Regions from separate parts of the Homo sapiens genome. Here all the other regions are linked to region 3. Evidence: promoter capture Hi-C in human tissues and cell types (Jung and others, 2019). All regions are on one chromosome and are shown on one strand. The core of a region is centred on a gene start or on the middle of the fragment in contact, and the rest is flanking DNA. Distances in the headings are between cores, read along the strand shown.

The links. The method cuts DNA at HindIII sites, captures the fragments that hold promoters and counts their contacts. A contact is called where the count stands out against the background at its distance.
Region 1: a contact is called between a fragment that was not itself captured here and the fragment with the promoter of RASL10A in region 3, in 2 of the 25 tissues and cell types used here (dorsolateral prefrontal cortex and spleen).
Region 2: a fragment that was not itself captured here is called in contact with the fragment with the promoter of RASL10A in region 3 in 1 of the 25 tissues and cell types used here (dorsolateral prefrontal cortex).

Annotation. Positions count from the first base shown.
Region 1 is chr22:27,869,859-27,873,003 of GRCh38, reverse strand. The region is part of intron 8 of PITPNB (phosphatidylinositol transfer protein beta); the gene reads left to right. Among named protein-coding and RNA genes, the nearest start is that of PITPNB, 48 kb to the left of the region's middle. The HindIII fragment of the contact is 6,796 bases long and covers 1-3,145 here.
Region 2 is chr22:27,923,146-27,926,155 of GRCh38, reverse strand. The region is part of intron 1 of TTC28-AS1 (TTC28 antisense RNA 1); the gene reads right to left. Among named protein-coding and RNA genes, the nearest start is that of MIR3199-1, 4.0 kb to the right of the region's middle. The HindIII fragment of the contact is 4,991 bases long and covers 1-3,010 here.
Region 3 is chr22:29,314,391-29,317,574 of GRCh38, reverse strand. It overlaps RASL10A (RAS like family 10 member A), which reads left to right and starts at 1,878. Exons shown (of 3, transcript NM_006477.5): 1 at 1,878-2,547. The coding sequence starts at 2,329. RefSeq lists enhancers at 1,882-2,686, 2,687-3,184. The HindIII fragment of the contact is 15,140 bases long and covers 1-3,184 here.

The DNA.
Region 1 (3,145 bases), core at 152-2,651, 1.4 Mb after region 3:
GAGCCACTGCGCCCAGCCAGTAGTTGTTTTTAAATAAAGTGCACACCCTTACTTTATTCATGGAAGTAAGGTAATGTCAAGGTAATAATTTAAATTGCTATAGAAATATAATGCATTTTAAAGACATCTACTAAACTAAATGACAGATCCTTAAAGAAGTCTTAATGTGTTATTGGCAAGTTACTACAGCTAATTTGACAAGAGAAGAGCATAAAAACTTAAACATGCCCAGAGCAGATTTTCCACTCCCAGGGTCTTACTTGGTAACCAGTCTGTCTGTGCTGAAGCCAGTTACAGGTCATCGATAAGTGATGTCTAGGTACTAGTTGCATGCAGATAAGAGGATTACTGTTACAGCCCCACAGAGAACTCATTGAGTGGTTCTCCCTGGGTGTTAGACTGTTTTGTGGACTGTCTTGTGCATCAACTAAAAGGAAAAATGAATTTGACTTTGGTTTATAAGAAATGATTCATAACTATATTATTTTCACATTTGTTCTCTGGGTAGAGTTTAGTTCAGAATTCTCCCAGTTTTAATACTTAGCATGTTAGGCCAATCTTGCATTATTACAAAGAACCTGAGAATGGGTATTATATATAAAGAGGCTTGGGCCAGGTGCAGTGGCTCACGCCTGTAATCCCAGTACTTTGGGAGGCTGAGGTGGGTGGATCACTTGAGGTCAGGAGTTCAATACCAGCCTGGGCAACATGTTGAAACCCCATCTCTACTAAAAATCCAAAAATTAGCTGGGCACGATGGTGCTTGCGTGTAATCCCAGCTACTCAGGAGGCTGAGGCAGGAGAATCACTTGAACCCGGGAGGTAGAGGTTGCAGTGAGCTAAGATTGCACCATTGCACTCCAACCTGGGCGACAGAGTGAGACTCCGTCCCAAAAAAAAAAAAAAAAAAAAAAAAAAAAAACCAGGCTTAATTGGCTCACGGTTCTGCACACTGTATAGGAAGCATAGTGCTGGTATCTGCTTTTGGGGAGGCTTCAGAAAGCTTACAGTCATGGTAGGCAAAGGAGAAGCAGGCGTCTCACATGGTGGAAGTGGGGCAGGGGAAGTGTGCCATGCACTTTTATACAGCCAGATCTCGTGTGAACTCAGAGTGAGAGCTCACTTATCACCAAGGGGATGGCCCAAGCTATTCATGAAGGATCTGCAGTCATGATGCAAACACCTGTTAGAGGCTTTACCTCTAACATTAGGGATTGCATTTCAACATTGGGGATTACATTTCAGCATGAGATTTGAGCAGGGACAAATTCCCAATCTATATTACCCAGAAAGTGATATATACCACTTATAAATTAACAAATTCAGCCTGCTTGATGTAAATTTGCTTTAATGGATTTAGTGTCCCCAGCCTTTTCCAGATTTCTAGCTTCAGACTTTAGAACTCAATCTTAGTTGGAGGAGAAGCCCTTTGAGATTTCACACTGGTCTTCTAAACAAGGACACCATGCCAGAGAGCAGCCCAGATGGTGGCTACCTCCACTGGTGCTGTAACTTCTAAAAAAGTACATCTTGTTCCAGTGAGTAGTAGCTCTAGCTGACAATACTTTTACAGGGAGTAAAGGGGCATGAGGTTGAGACCCAGAGGTGAATTAAATATTGTATTTTCTTGAAATTATTAGCTTTTCAAGTATAAACATTAAAAGACAATGCTACATTATGTGGTGGGCTTTATGTTTGGGCTCAGATCCTTCCTATAGGAACTCCTGATTTTATAACAGGCAGCAAAAGTAGTTTGATACTATGACTTGTACTGATTTCTAACTTTTTAGGAACTTGGAATATATACCATGTCTGGCCTGATTTGTAACTGATATTGCTTTGTCTTTTATTATTGACTAATGATTGAAATTCTAGAATAGGTTTAGTTCTTAGAAATAATGTGAATTTTGTATTTCTGCAGATTGCAGAACTGCAGTTTTTTTCCATTTTCCCCCCTGTGTTAAACAGTAACTTATTAGGCTGATAGGGTGCTGGTTGTTTCTGCCCATTTGCCTGTTGATTGTTCATTTTATCCAGATGATGGTGTATCCAGCTACTCTTATAAATTCAGCTACTGCCTGACTGAATTTCTGTGAATTACTGTGATCTCAGAAATAACTAGTGCAGTCAAGAATAACTGATAATAATTAAGCCATCCACTTGCTGCTGTGGAGGGAAATAAAGCGTAAGAAGATAGCTGATAATATGGCATACAGGAAAATAGGAACCTTTGGACTTGATCTTACCAGTGTCTTCTGTAAACATGTTCAGCAGGCCCTCTTTGCCAATTACTGTCCTGGTGGAGGCACTGAGGGTAGCACTGGGGAACGATAATAGTTGGAAATTTTTATACTTCTGAAATGCAAGGAAGAAATAGGGAACAAACATGATAATTATGGCTGAAAGGAAGAAGAAATCTTATTGTGGACCCACTTAACCAGGGTAGTGTTGAAGAATGTTCTTATAGAAGAGCTGCCTGGTAGTTCCACAGTCTCTCTCTCAAAAGGCCTCTGTGAACCATCCCACACATACCCTTCAGCAGAAACCTGCCTTACCAGTACAGATTCCAAAGTCTATTCAAAGCTAAATGCAAATCCTATGATTTCTTTGAAACTTTTCCTTACTTGTCTGATGGTGGTATTTTCCCTCTGAATTATTGCAGTATTTACTTCCTGTCTGCACCAGACTGACTAGGGGTAAAGAAACTTTTCCTTGGTACCAGGTACTATACAAGGTTACATTTAATCTTTACAACCTTCCTGTGGTGTAAGTTCAGCTGCTTTATTTTATATAGTTGAGAAACTTGGGCAGAGAAACACATGTAATAGTTGTAGGAGAAACAGCAGAATGTCTGCCATTTCTGGAACACCTGATTCGGTGGTAGTTACAGCAGTGTGTAAGGTATGGAGATGTAGCAGATTTTAACTCTTAATCCAGTGACTCCTAGATCACCGTTCTGTACCTTTTATGCCCTGTTGCATCATTGGCAATTGTGTGATGCCCTATTCATGGTATTTGCCAGAATTTGATAATTTCTGTTACACTAGTGGTACGTTTTCAATGGTCAGGGAATCTGTAAGTGTCGGAGGCACTAAGGGAGATCCATTAAAAAGCCACTGGGAATCTACACAAGTTATAACTTAAC
Region 2 (3,010 bases), core at 162-2,661, 1.4 Mb after region 3:
TCTCAGGAAGTACACAGAAAGCATGAACCATAAAACAAAATGAGAAACTAGACTTCATCAGAACTTAAAATTTCTGCTGTTTGAAATATACCACCAAGATGAAAAGGCAAGCAGCTGACTGGGAGGAAATACTCATAACACAAACATCTGAGAAAGGACTTATATGTAGGATATTCAAATAACTCTTCCAACTCAAAAACAGAAAAAGAACAATTTGAAAATGGGCAAGAGTTGAATAGTTACTTGACAAAACATGTACAAATGACCAATAAGTACATGAAAAAGTGCTCAACATCATTAGTTTTCAGAGAACTGCAAATTTAACTACAATGAGATACCACATTTCCACTAGAGTGGCTAAAATGTGTTGATGAGGATGTGGAGTAACTGGACTCTCATGCATTGCTGCTGGGAATGCAAAATGGTACCACCACTTTGTAAATTGTTGGCCACTTCTCCCAAACATACACTTACCTTATAATCCAACAGAAATGAAAACATATATCCACAGGAAGACTTCTATACATCTAGTCATGGCAACTTTATCATGACCAAAAACTGTATAGCACTGAAAAATCCATCACTAGGTAAACGGATAAAAAATTTCTGGTATATCCACACAAAGGAATACCACTGAGCAATGAAAAGGTCTGAATGACACACATTCAGGAATCTCAGAACCATTATGCTAGAAGATACAAAAAGGACTATATGATAAATGATATGAAACTCTACAGAAGTCTGAGTATACCTTTAACAAAACCCTACAGCTGTACACTTCAAATAGGTGCATTTTATATGTAAGTTATAGCTTGGTAAAGTTAACATTTTCTGCATATTAGAGGACATAAGATTTCTCCTCTTTAAAATAGGGACAATAATATCTACATCATATGTTGTTGTGATGCGTAAATGAGTTAGGATTAATTCATATGAAACACTTAAGGCTTGTCTGGCATATAATAAAAAAATGTTAGCAGGATAACTACACAACAAAGTCACTATAACCAGTGGTTCTCAACTTAGGGCAATTGTGCCCCCCAGGAGAAACTAGGCAATGTCTGGAAACACTGCTGACTGTCATGACTGGAGGGGTACTACCGGCACCTGGCCAATAGAGGCCAGGGATGTTGCTGAACATCCCTACAAGGCATAGAACAGCCTACACAGCAAAGAATAATCTGACCCAAAATGTCAATACAACAGAGGTTCAGAAACCCATTTATTAAAGAAAATAAGTGACAGAACAATCCACAGATGGAAAAGAAATATTCCAAGTGCATATAATCAACATGGAATTCAAATCCAGAATGTGTAGGTGTGTGTGTGTGTTGGTGGTGGTGCAAAAGTAATTGCATTTTTGGACCATTAATTTTAAATCATTATAACTAGGCTCAAACACATCTTTATTAATCAAAATAGGAACCATTACAATCAACACTTTTTTGCCAACGAGAAATAAATTTGTTTATTCCTGCAGCATAAACATCCATGCTTCTGGATTCAACAAACTCTTGGAAAGCATTTTTCTGCATCCTGCTGGTGTGGAAGCATTTCACCTGCAAAAAGCTGTCAAGATGCTTCAAGAAGTGAAGCATCCAATGGCTGGCCACTGTGTTCCTCATATTCAAGGCTCTAGTCTGCTTTGCAAAACTTCTTGAATCACAGCTGCCCTGTATGTTCGTTAGTAGTTCCTGGGCCAAATGCGCTGTTCATGTTTCAAGTTATCTCTGCTGCGTTATGACCCATTTTGAACTCAAATAAGAAAACCACTTGAAGTTGCTTTTTGTCTAATATCATTTCCATAGTCTAAAATAAATATAAACAGCAAGTAATAAGTCATTAGCAAAAAAAAAAAAAACAAAGTGAGAAATGCCCATTAAAATGATGTATAACATAACCACATTTAAGAAGGTTTAAGAGGGTATTCCAGTATCAAATGACAAATTTCAACGATGCAAAAACCTCAATTACTTTTGCACCATCCTAATATACCCTACAAATCAAAAAGAAAAGAACAAGACCAACAGGAAAAAGAAGGAAGAATGAGACTAAGACCAGAAAACAAAACATCCTCAACCTGCAAGGAATGCAAAGTGAACACAAGATAAGAGTTTTAAAACCAATAAACTGACAAAAAATAAAAATTCTGACAATATTACATGTTGGTGATGACACAGAAGAACAAGAATCTGTATTATACACAACAGACAAAAGGTAATGATGGCCAATATGTATACACGCATGAATGCACATATACGTTCTTATGCAAGTATTAGAGTAACAAATAATGAATAAACATAGTGGTTACTCTATAGACTGATATCTTCAATTACTGTTCCTGCTTTTTGTAAGCTTTTAAATGGTTCCCATTCACTGAACACTTATGTATCCAGTAAAGTAGATAACATAGGTGCTTTATATACTTCATATTTGTTAGTCCTTAAATCTGTTGCAGATATTAATAGTCCTCTTTTTTCAGATGTGTAAAACTGAGTTTCAGTGTAAACTGAATCTCTGAGAGATTAAGTCATTTTCTCAAGGTTCAGAACAGTAAGTGGCAGAGTAAGTGCAGGATTGAGGCTAGGGTCTTTCTACTCCAAAGCCTAACCCTGTCCGTCCCAGAGTGATACAATATTATAACCTACGCCCTGATATTTAACAAAATTAAAGCATTCTTGGGAATACTTCTAGTTTTCATAGAAAGATCCTCAATCAAGATCATTCTGGAATGTGCAGAAGATAAAAAGAAATGGGATGGCAAAACGCAGAGAAAGCAAGGCAAATGAAAGCTACAAACCTCTCCCTTAGATAAATGTACACATGAGCCGGGAGCGGTGGCTCACACCTGTAACCCCAGCACTTCGGGAGGCCAAGGCGGCTGGATTACCTGAGGTCGGGCGTTCAAGATCAGCCTGACCAACATGGTGAAACCTCGCCTCCACCAAATACAAAAGAAATTTAGCCGGGCGTGATGGCAGGTGCCTGTAATCCCAGTTACTCGGGAGGC
Region 3 (3,184 bases), core at 629-3,128:
ACCCAGAAGCCTGAAAAGTCAAAAACCCAGAAGTTTGGCCAGATGTGGTGGCTCACGCCTGTAATCCTCGCACTTTTGGAGGCTGAGGAGGGAGGATTGCTTAAGCCAGGAGTTCAAGACCAGCCTGGGCAACATAGTGAGATTCCACCTCTACAAAAAATAAAAATAAATCAGCTGGATGTCGTAGTACACACCTGCAGTCCCAGCTATTTGAGAGACTGAGGCAAGGAGGATCACTTGAACCCAGGAGGTTGAGGATGCAGTGAGCTAAGATCACACCACTGCACTCCAGCTTGGGTGACAGAGCAAGACCTTGTCTCAAACAACAAAACCCAGAAGTCTGAAAAGTTACAACGTGAAAGAGGACATCAAGTGAAGGGAAAAATCATGGTAGGAAAGAAAGATGAAGCCAGCAGTCCCCACTCACTGAGCTAGAAGACCTGGAACACTAGACAGAGGTGGTTCTGAGCTTCCTAGTGGCTGAGGAGAGGAGTGAAAGCGGACCCCAGCCCCCGATCTAGCATGGGAGGATGAAAGCACAGCCATTGTTCTGGAGACACTTTCTGGTTGTCATTATACAGGCTCCCTGGAGGATGTGCCTCCTCCCCCTTCAGGATTTAGCTCCTCTACTTCCCCTGGGCTGGTGTGGGCACATTGTCTGTGCTTTGACAGTCCCTAGATCCCATGTGTTCTAGAACCTTCTCTCCCAAAGCAGAACTTTTTTTTTTTTTCCTGTTTTCTGTTTTTTAAATCTATCTCAGCCTCCTGACAAGCAATAAGATTTGGAATATTTGTTGAGGGGATAAATAAATGAACTCCTTAGTCAGTGCAGAGATCTGTGCATTGCGGCCATTTCTTGAGCATTGCCGCCATTTCTTGAGCATTGCCATGTGCAGGTCAGAGACGTGGGAGCCCCCACACAGCGGGGAGGAGAGCAGAGGCGGAGGATGGGGGGGCTGGGCTAACCCAGGCTTTCCAAGCTGTGATGGGGCAGGAGCTTCTCCACTAGCTCGAGGGAGGGGGAACTTGGGCTCTGGGCGCCTGTTTTGGAGGTTGCATCCCTTTGAGGGGCGCTACGGGTTGCAACTCACGCAGGAAAGGTGACCTTAGTAGTGATGGAGGTGGAGTGGGCCAATTTCTGGATCTTTATTTAGTCACCTCCAGCCTTGCTGGGACAGGGATCTGGGGCTAAGCTGCTGTGGTCTCGGCACCCTCTGTCCCCACTTCCCCTCGAGGACGGCTGTTTGAATATTGTCTAGTGTGGGCCATTTACCCCCGTGGGCAGGAGGAAGGTAGGAGGGACTTCAAAGGAGACTTCAAGGGCCCCCCCACTGCCCTTCTAACCTTGCAGATTCCCCTCTCGGGCCTGTTTCCTCTTCTCTCAACCAGCGATGCCAGGCTGAGGCTGTAGGTTCGAGAATCACGTAGGTAATGGGCCTGGCACATAGTAGGCTCTCAAGAAAAGGTTGGAGCCTCTTGAGGAGTCTGCCTGTGATGGATGCGGAGCGCAGACCCAGCGCAGTGCGGCGATTCGCCCAAGGTCACACAGCCGCCCCCCCCAATTCGGACCCCGGGCGGCCTGACTCCGGGGGCCGGGGCTTGTCGGGAGCCAGCGTGGGGGCGAGCAGTGTTTGGAAGAGCGGCCGCGGCAGTGGGTGGGAAGGGGCTTCTATTTTGGAGCGGGTGAGAGGAGCGGGACACGCGGAGGAGGTAAGGAAGGGGTAGGCCCTCTCCGGGATCTCTGTCCCCCAGTCACCTTCCTGCGACCCTTCCTGGGAGGGGCGTCCTGGGCGGTGGGGGAAGGTGGGAGGGGCGGGCGGTTACCTCATCGCCGCCTCCGGGAGGCCCCGCTCGCTCGCGCCGGCGGCTGGGGCGGCGACTCCAGGCGCGGAAGCGAGAGAAGGATAGAGGCACAGAGGCTCCGGGAGGCAGCGCTGCCCCCCGCGCCCCGCACCGCTGCGGGACCCGCGCCGCGAGAGGGGCGGACTTCGGCGCCTCGCGCGTCCGCCGGCGCCTGGGTTGGCGCTGCGGGGCGGAGGCGGTGTCTGAGCGCCGCTCCGGCTCTGCTCTCTCTCGAGCTTCGGCACCCGCCCGAGCCGCTCGCGCGCCCGCCACCTGTCTGCCCACTCGGCTGTCTGTCTGCCCTCCCGCCGCCAGCTCCTGCCTCGGGCCTGCCCTCTCCGGTCTCGGTGCTCCGAGGGGCGACGAGAAGCGCGACGGGGCCGTGGCGCACCGGGCAGGGCGCGCGGGGCGCACGGCCTGGGGGCGCACGGTGCGGCGCCGGCCCATGAGGCTTTCCAGCGCGGGGAGCGACAGCGCCGGCCGGCCATGGGGGGTAGCCTGCGGGTGGCCGTTCTAGGCGCCCCGGGCGTGGGCAAGACGGCCATCATCCGCCAGTTCCTGTTCGGTGACTACCCCGAGCGCCACCGGCCCACGGACGGGCCGCGCCTCTACCGACCCGCGGTGCTGCTCGACGGCGCCGTCTACGACTTGAGCATCCGCGACGGCGACGTCGCTGGCCCCGGCTCGAGCCCCGGGGGTCCGGAGGTAGCGGCTCGAGGAGCGGGCAGGGGCGTGTGACAGTGTGAGGGGTGTGCGTGCTCGGTGCACACGTGCGTGTCCGCGTGGAGGCCTCGGGCGCCTGGCTGTGCTCCGGGATGGAGGGATGTGTGTGCGTCCTGGGATACTTGCGTTTCAGCCCTTCCCGCCGACCTGGAGACGCCCAAGCCCAGGCTGGAGGCCGGGCGATTTTGCCCAGGGGCGTTCCCTTGCTCCTGTGAGCGCCTCCACCTTTGCCTGCCTCGGCTGGGGGTGTGGAGCAGCTCTTGGTGGTGCATAACGGTGCCTTCCCGAGAGTGTGGCGTTTTGTGTTTGGGGCCTTGAGCAGAGCTACAATGGGAGAGACTGGGGTCAGGAGCAGGGGTGTACTTTCTACGGGGGCTGGTGGAGGGGTTCATTCTCTGCCCTATCATTTTTGTCCCCTGGAGCGAAGACTCGTTTAGTAATTTGTGCAAAGTAAAGGACAGACCTCCGACCCTAGAGCAGTGAAGAGGAAAGAGCAGGCAGGATTAAGCAGGGCTTCCTGGAGGGAGTGGCATTTGAGCTGAACCTGGAAGACCGAGTGAAGTTCTGAGTAAAGGAAGTGGCAAAAACATACCAGGTGGAAAGACCAGCAGGTGCTTAC